Linked DNA regions of Homo sapiens: region 1 is linked to region 2. Evidence: promoter capture Hi-C in human tissues and cell types (Jung and others, 2019). All regions are on one chromosome and are shown on one strand. Each heading gives the region's core, a stretch centred on a gene start or on the middle of the fragment in contact. The rest is flanking DNA. Distances are from core to core; before and after follow the strand shown.

The links. Contacts are between HindIII fragments. The study calls those that stand out against the background at their distance.
Region 1: a fragment that was not itself captured here is called in contact with the fragment with the promoter of TMEM132D in region 2 in 1 of the 25 tissues and cell types used here (mesendoderm cells).

Annotation. Positions count from the first base shown.
Region 1 is chr12:129,531,338-129,535,377 of GRCh38, forward strand. The region is part of intron 2 of TMEM132D (transmembrane protein 132D); the gene reads right to left. Among named protein-coding and RNA genes, the nearest start is that of TMEM132D-AS2, 320 kb to the left of the region's middle. The HindIII fragment of the contact is 4,730 bases long and covers 308-4,040 here.
Region 2 is chr12:129,901,826-129,905,562 of GRCh38, forward strand. It overlaps TMEM132D (transmembrane protein 132D), which reads right to left and starts at 2,200. Exons shown (of 9, transcript NM_133448.3): 1 at 1,436-2,200. The coding sequence starts at 1,514. The HindIII fragment of the contact is 10,076 bases long and covers 1-3,737 here.

The DNA.
Region 1 (4,040 bases), core at 1,423-3,922, 370 kb before region 2:
ACACAAATTTGCAGTCGCCTTCCAACCCATCTGCCCTAATTTCTTTCCGTTTTTCCTACCTTTACTAAAGAGCTAGAGATGGTAGACTGACAGCCAGCAAACATTAGTTACAGAAAGAAATAGAATATCCTTGCACTAGCTTGTATCTTTAAATAAAGCCAAGCCAAACACAAACACAGAACTACCTGAAAACCCTTAGCCTGGCCAAACTCAATAGAAAAAGGCAATGAAAATGCAAAAGTAAAGACTGAAATAAGAACGCACATTCATTGAATGTCTCCCAGTGCCAGGCCCTGATGGACACTGTGTCTATATTATCTGATCTTCCTAGCAAGGTTCCAAGCCCAAAATGAGGGGGCTGAGGTTCAGATAGGGGAAGGAACAATGATGGCCTCAAGTGATCCACCTGCCTCAGCCTCCCAAAGTGGGAGCTACTGCGCCCAGCCCTGTTTGCTTTTTATAATCTTGTCTTCTTACTGTATGCTTTCCATTCCATATGTTCTTTCCAATTCAGGTTTCTAAAAGAAACATAGAATAATGAAACCCCATCTCAACTAAAAATACAAAAATTATTTGAGTGTGGTGGTGTGCCCCTGTAGTCCTAGCTACTTGGGAGGCTGAGGTGGGAGGATCACTTGAACCTGGGAGGCGGAGGCTGCAGTGAGCTGAGATCGACCCACAGCACTCCAGTTTGGGTGACAAAGTGAGATCCTGCCTCAAAAGAAAAATAATAATAAATAAAATATAAAATAAAATAAAATGCAAACAGTTTGATTTTGATTTACAAGCTGGCCTAGAAGTTTGAAAAAGCTAATGTTTCCTGCTGTGTTTTCTCTTAGTCCCTCAGCGGAAAATAGGAAAAGTCTTGAAGCGAGAGTACCAAGGGGAACCTGGAGCACGCTGATGGTACCTGACCTAGGCAGACGAGGATGGTGGGAGCGGCCGACTTGGAGTTCCTCCAGACTTGTAATCATTGTGCCTATATAAACATGCAGTAAGGCAATGGTGCCAGAGCCTACATCTCAAAATCCCTCTCTGTCATGCCAGAGGAGAAAGTGAGACCATCTTCTGCTATTAATATTAGGGACAAAAGGCGAGGGGGAGATGACACTCATAGGACCAGGGCTTTGAGAAAAAGCAGGACACGTCTGTCCCTAACACCAACAACGCTATTTCCCATGGAAACAATTTTAAAATGTAGTGTGCAGAAAAGACCTGAGGCTGCAGGCTTGAGACTGCCCTCCTTAGGAAAGCCTGCTGGCAAGGGTGGCTGGGAACTTGGATTTGGGGAGCGTTCCCTCCCTTTTCATGGTCAGAGGGGCTCACGGTGCCTAGACTGGGCAAATGAGGTGGTTTATGCTGGACACTTTGTTGTCTTCTAGGAGCATAGAATTTTGGTACGTGCCAGGCAGAGGGTGCCCCCATGAGCAATCCCCAGTGAAAACCCTGAACTCCTGGGCTCAGGTGAGCTCCTCTGGCAGTGCTGTCCCAGCCATATGCTGGAGGAATTGGAGGAATTAAGCACATCCTGCGTGACTCCACGGGGAGAGGATTCCTGGGAGCGTGAGCCTGGTCTCCTCCCCTGTGCCTTTTCCCTCTGCGGACCATGCTTTGCTTTCCTTGGCGAATACATCGGAGCAGTGATTCTCACCACATGCTGAGTCCTGTGAGTTCTCCTAGTGACTCGCTGGACCTGGGGGTGGTCTTAGGAACCCCCAGGACACATACTGATTTGGCGAGTCCACAAAGAGAGAAAGAATTGCTTCTAGGTGTGGCCCTACTGCAAAAGTCAGCATTTTTAGAAAATGATCATCACGTATAACATTATTTCTGTGGGGAAAATGCACGTTTGATGTTTTAAATAATCATTATGCATGCAAACACTTTGAATGCAGTCGTTTAAAAACTGGGAATCGCATGCAGACGCCAAAAAGCCATCTGACCTTTCTAGATACTCAGGTGAGACACTGGGCGAATAGTTAGGATTCCTGCCTTGCAGAAACTCATTTAAATTGTAGGCAACCAAGATGTGGTAGCGAACAAAAGTACAATCCGCTGTGGACAGCTACTATTATACTAAGATGAATTCTAAAGGCTGTCCCAATTACTCTGCAGTGGAATTTTATTGAATCAACATTGCTTTAAATAAATAGGTCATCAACCTGGCTGTGACAACCTTTTCATTATACAGGAGATATCAGTACATAGGCCTTTTCTGATATATAATGGGCTTATATGTTTCTGAAATTTTATTCATAAGTAGGCTATGTGGAATTCAGATGATGTTTCTCCAATGAATCCTTTTCAAGTTCTTAAGAAAGGACACAGTGGCTTGTTCAACCCATGAAGTATTCAACATTTCTTGCTAATAATTCCACTGTAGCAAATGAAGCTATAGTCGGTAGCATTATTTCTGCAAAAATGTTTTTTCCTGGAATTTTATACAGGACACTGGGAACTGTCTTTCAGAGACACAGAACATTTTCATAATAGAACACACATTTCTAGGGCATGTTTTAGATGTTCAGAATTGAAGAAGGCATACTCAAGAGGTATCCTTGTGTGTGAATATCAAGGAAAATCTATGTAATAAACTGGATGGTCATTCTTCGGAGATGTAGACACGGTATTTACTGAACACGGTGTGTGTTGGGTTAATAATTTTGAAGCACGAATCTCAGAGCTGTCAGTGGCACCATTTGGAACCATTAAAGTAGTTCCTAGAACACATGCCCCTGGGCTCCACTGGGTCTGAGCCAAATACTAATTTCTCCCTTTGTTTATGACAACTGAGTTACTTACATTCATTAATGGAAGTTTTATAACCTACTTGTGGTTCAATAAATACAGGTTACACTGACAGCCTCATTACACAGAGATAAACATAGCACTTGATTTTGAAGATACTTTGCTGTAGATTTATGCTTAATAATATATCTACCATGGTGATGGGGGAAAGCCATAATTTTCCCCATAGTATGCACATGCACTGTGATTGGGTATCAACAAAACCTGCCTGGGGTTAAAGGTATATTGTGTTTTTAAAACATAATAGAACTGCAGGGACTGTGTATATTTTATATACATATATATATAAAAATATATAAATGCAATTTGTATATACATATATGTATACATAATGTAGAATATGTATATATCATCAACACACACACACAGAGTTTCAAGTACAGCATCCAGGGTTCAGAAATGTGGTGCGCAATTGTTGCTTTTGCTCCCCATACCCAATCTCTTTCCTGGATAGCAGTATCTTCATTTTGCTTATATGACCCACCTCTCTGCCATTCTATACCACCATGGTAGACTTGTAAGTCAAGAGTTTCTCCCTCCAACCCTGGACAAAAGGTGGACACATGACCTAAGCCAGTCCAGCTGAAAGATTCTCTCTGGAATATAATCTTGAACAAAGAGACACAGCAAATAAAAAAGGTTGGGGGAAATTCACCCAGCCTTGTGGCCCTGCTACAACTGTCTATTGCTTCCTTCTCTCTGGTTTGCAGGAATTAACACAGCTAACATTTCTGAATCTGGTTCTCAGCCTTCCCTTTAGGCATACAAATATTCCCCATCCTCCCATCCAGTCCCTTCTTGTTTAACGTAGCCTGAGTTATTTATGATCATTTCCAATTATATAACAAGGGGAGGCTAAGATTCAGTGACTTCAAGAACAAGGAAGTGTATTTCCTCCTCCTGTGAACATCCATTGCTGGTAACCCAGGTTGCTGGGTGTCTCTGTTCCACTCAGTCATTTGGGGATCAAGGCTGAAGGCATCTCTACTGTTTTTAATGTATAACTTCTAATGTCTCTGTGCTCATGACCATCCCAGCCAAGAGGAAGAGGGAAGAGCAGTAGACCAGAACAAGGGATTTCCTCTTAAGCAGGTGAGGTGGGCACTGCATGCCCAAATTCACTCACCTCCCATTGGAAGGAGCCTAGTCTCATGGCCACACCTGACTGCAAGAGCAGCGAGTGCTGGGAAGTCAGTCTTTACCTGGACAGCCGTATCCCCACTGTGACCCTG
Region 2 (3,737 bases), core at 950-3,449:
AAGTCTGGACCTATTATAAAACCAAGTGAGAACCAACCCCCCCCGCCCCAAAAAAAAAATGCTGGGCTGTTGTTGCTGTGGATTTTGGTTTTTTTAACCTCACGTCTGCCTGAGTCAGGTTCACTGAATTCATCAACCTTTTCTTTGGTTTCCTGTGCACATTATAAATCCAGAAGGCTCTGATCCCAGGGATTGTTCTAACTCATAATTAGGAAACGTGAGCCCATTTCAACCACACTTCAAAGACAGGGAAGGAGGGGGAACGTAAATTCCTCTTTCTAAATCGAACCATCACAGAACTCGGCATTTCAACTGTCTTCATCTATTATCAGATCCAAAGCAACATAACCTCAGTGATTCTGGAAGAACTCAGAGAACAGACAATTCATGTAATTAAAAGACTTTGTGCGTGATAATTGGCTTTGAAGTTTCTGAGAGAGATCTCATCTCAAAAATCTTTGCAGAAAAATATGGGTACAGGGTTCTTGCAGCACGTATTAGAGACTGCTGAGACGCTTCACTCTCCTCCCAGTGTATCTATCTGCAGGAAAGGGGCACGGGTGGGGGAACCACACACAAGCAGCCCAGGTCAATCATGAGAAAGAATCTCCCGCACAAATCACACCATTTCTCTTCAAGGAAGAATGACTGTCCAGAGCTTCCAAACTTGCTCTTCCCATGACAGACAGGGATGCTGGCAGAAGAGAAGAGGAAACATTGAGGAATTCCTGCCTTGACACATGGCTTCAAGTCAGGGCTCCGCTGGGAAAATTCGGGTCACAACTTGTAGCTGAAACTCCACGTGCACCCTGCGGGGCCGCTGCTGCTCCCAGCACCCTACGGAAGGGTGAGCGCCAGACCCTGTGCCCAAACCTCACAGCGGCAGACCTGGAGAAACCCATCCCCCTTCTTCAGAGCCGCCCCCCAGGCTATATTTTTGGCAGCCTATAATACACAAAATAGTATTCCCATACAACAGGAGTGCTCCAAAATTATTTCCAAATAGGTCAGTGCCACCAGGGAAAGTCAATCCCAAATTCCAGAAATCTCCCTGGTCATCTCAATCCCCTCCTCCCCCGACAGCCGGCTCGGCCCTCCAGAGGCCACCTTTCCTCTCAAGGGTCCCCACGCCCTCTCCCTTTACAGAAAAGGCTTTCAGGAAACAGCCTTCCTTTCCTTTCGGCTCCTTAGTAGTCTCACCTAAGGCCTCCCACCCAAGTGCTCCAGGACAAGCACCTTCGGCCAAGGGGCGTCCGAGGAGCTTGGCTGCCGCACGAGCGCACGTTCACACGCGCGCACACACACATGCACACAAGCGCGCACACACACTTGCACACGAGCCCTCTCTCCCGGCCGCCCCCATCCTCCACACACTCCCACACACTCACTCCAGGCGAAGTTAGTCCCCGGGCCCTGGCGGCCGCGGCGTCCTCACCTTTGGAAAACAGGGCGGCCAGGCTGATGAGTACCGGCGACCAGTGGTGCCACAGCGTCCCCATCTCAGACGGGCACATCCTGGAGACCCGGAGCGCAGATCCTCCGCTCCCCGGCGCCGTCCAGGCGAACAAGAGACCGTCTCAGTCCCCTAGAGGCCCGCAGCGGGGCCGGTGGCGAGGGAGCGCCCGGCTAGGGGCCCGAGCAGCCCGGGCGCCCTGCTCCCTCTTCCCGCCAGTCCATGGCCAGGCCGGGAGGCGACGACCGCGCGGGCTCCTGAGTTGCTCTCCGGAGTCCAACACGCGCGCAGGCAAACCCCACCTCCCTCCTTCGACCCCAACAGAATTTTTTTTAAATTTTAATCCACAGGGGGTATTTCCTTTCCTGTTTACCCGAGCGAAGAGTGGCCCCCGGTGGCCCAAGGAGGGGCGCCTCCAGGCGCAGGGCTCCGGCGGCTCCAGCTGCTCCCGGGCTGGCTAGCGGGCGCTGGCGCAGGCGGCGCCGGGGTGGCGGGGCTGCGGAGCCCGGGACGCGGGCAGAGGCGGCTCGGAGCCCCCCGGGCGGGTGGCCGGGCTCGCTGGGCGGCCCGGGGCTCCCTGGCCCGCAGCCCCCATCCCAGGCCGGCCGCTGCGCCTCGGGGCTCGGGCGCGCGCGCGCTCCGGCACCCAAAGTTTGGCGGGTGCGGCTGCTCCCCGGCCGCCGCCTCGGCCCGCCCGGCCCCGGGCCCGGCTGGGGCTCGCGGGGCTCTACGCGCGCCGAGCGCACTGCAGGCTCCGGAGACGCGGGGCTCCCCCCTGCGCCCGGGGGAGGCGGGCCAGATGTGCGCGGAGGAGGGCCCGCCGGCTCGGGGACGCGGCCGAGCAACGCAGCTGCCTCCTGCCAGCAGGCGCGGGGGCTCCGCTCCGCAAGGACCGCATCCGGAACGGAACGGAGGCGATCGCCACGGTGCCCGGAGCCGGCTGGGGCTTTCGCCTTAAAAATTTGTCTGCTTTTAAAAAGCCCCACCCTTTCGGAGTGACAGCTGTGAGCCCCAATCCGCAAAGTAAATCCCACCTCCCCCTGGCCGCCCCACGCCCAGCCTCCCGGCCACCCTCCCTGCGAGCGCGGACGCGCGGTGGCGGCGGGCGAGGGCTCCCAGCGCGGGCGCACCCCGGGGACGGAGCCACCCACTCTCCCAACAGGTGTCCAGCTGGCCACCGGCCTCTCGTCGTCATCAAAACCTCAGGCCCAGGGGAGGTCCTCCAGCCCGGGGGCACCTGAGGCTCTTCGCCAGGGAGAGCGCAAGGATGGCTGGAGAAGGGCCCTCGCCCCGCCCTGCGCATCTCCCAGGGATCGCAGTGAGGAAGTCTCTGACACGCCACACTGAGGTCATGCTGGCCCCAAGCCCCTTCCCAGAGCGATCCCCCAAGTTAGTGTCCCTAGAAACATGTCGTGTGCTCCCCAGGGCTCACTGGGAAAGGAAATGGATCCATTAGGAGACAACATTGCTTTGAGAAGATAAAAGACATGATTCTCAACACCGCCCGGAATCTCCAACTAAGACATTCCCACACCAAGATCCCTAAGCACCGTCCTGTAATTTGTAGCCCAAGAACTGCTTTGCTCCACGAGAGCCTTTAAATTAACCCCATCAAAGCTCAGAGGGAAGAAAAGCATTCAGAATTTTTAAGGAATATTGTAAACCAACAAGCCCTGAATCTAATGAGGTGAATTCACCTCAGTAGATAAAAATGGGTCGTTATCATCTGACTGAGGGGGCAATGGACTTTTTTATCCTGTATGCCTGTAGTTGCAGAAATATACCAATGCTTTAAGAGTTTTTAGCTTTCAAAGTTTCAAGGAAGATCAAAAAAGCCACTGCTGTTCTACCGAAGATTGTTTTTCTGGGTTCATGTCCTTTGAGATGTGCTCTTGTCTTTTATTCTGTATCTACTTATCTGAATATATCTGTCTTTCTGTTTTTTCTTTTGTTTGTTTCTTAAACTTGTTGCCTTTTCTCTTTGTATTGCTCTCCTGTAAAATTCCTAAGAGTCGACGCTGCAAAGACCCTAAGAGATTGTCTCTTTCACTGTTTCTGAAGTTTGAACCAGCAGGAGAGTCACTGGAAAATTTGTTAGACCTGGGTTGCTGGGCCCACCCCAGAGCTATCTCGGCAGGTCAAGGTGGGACTTCCGATCTCCGTTCCTAAAAAGTTCCAGGTGATGCTGATGCTGCCGGCCTGCGGAACACGTGCTGGAACCACTGGTCCCCTTTCTCCTTCACCTGAGTGATGAGAGAGCTGAGCTTTCGTCTCTTGGACACCT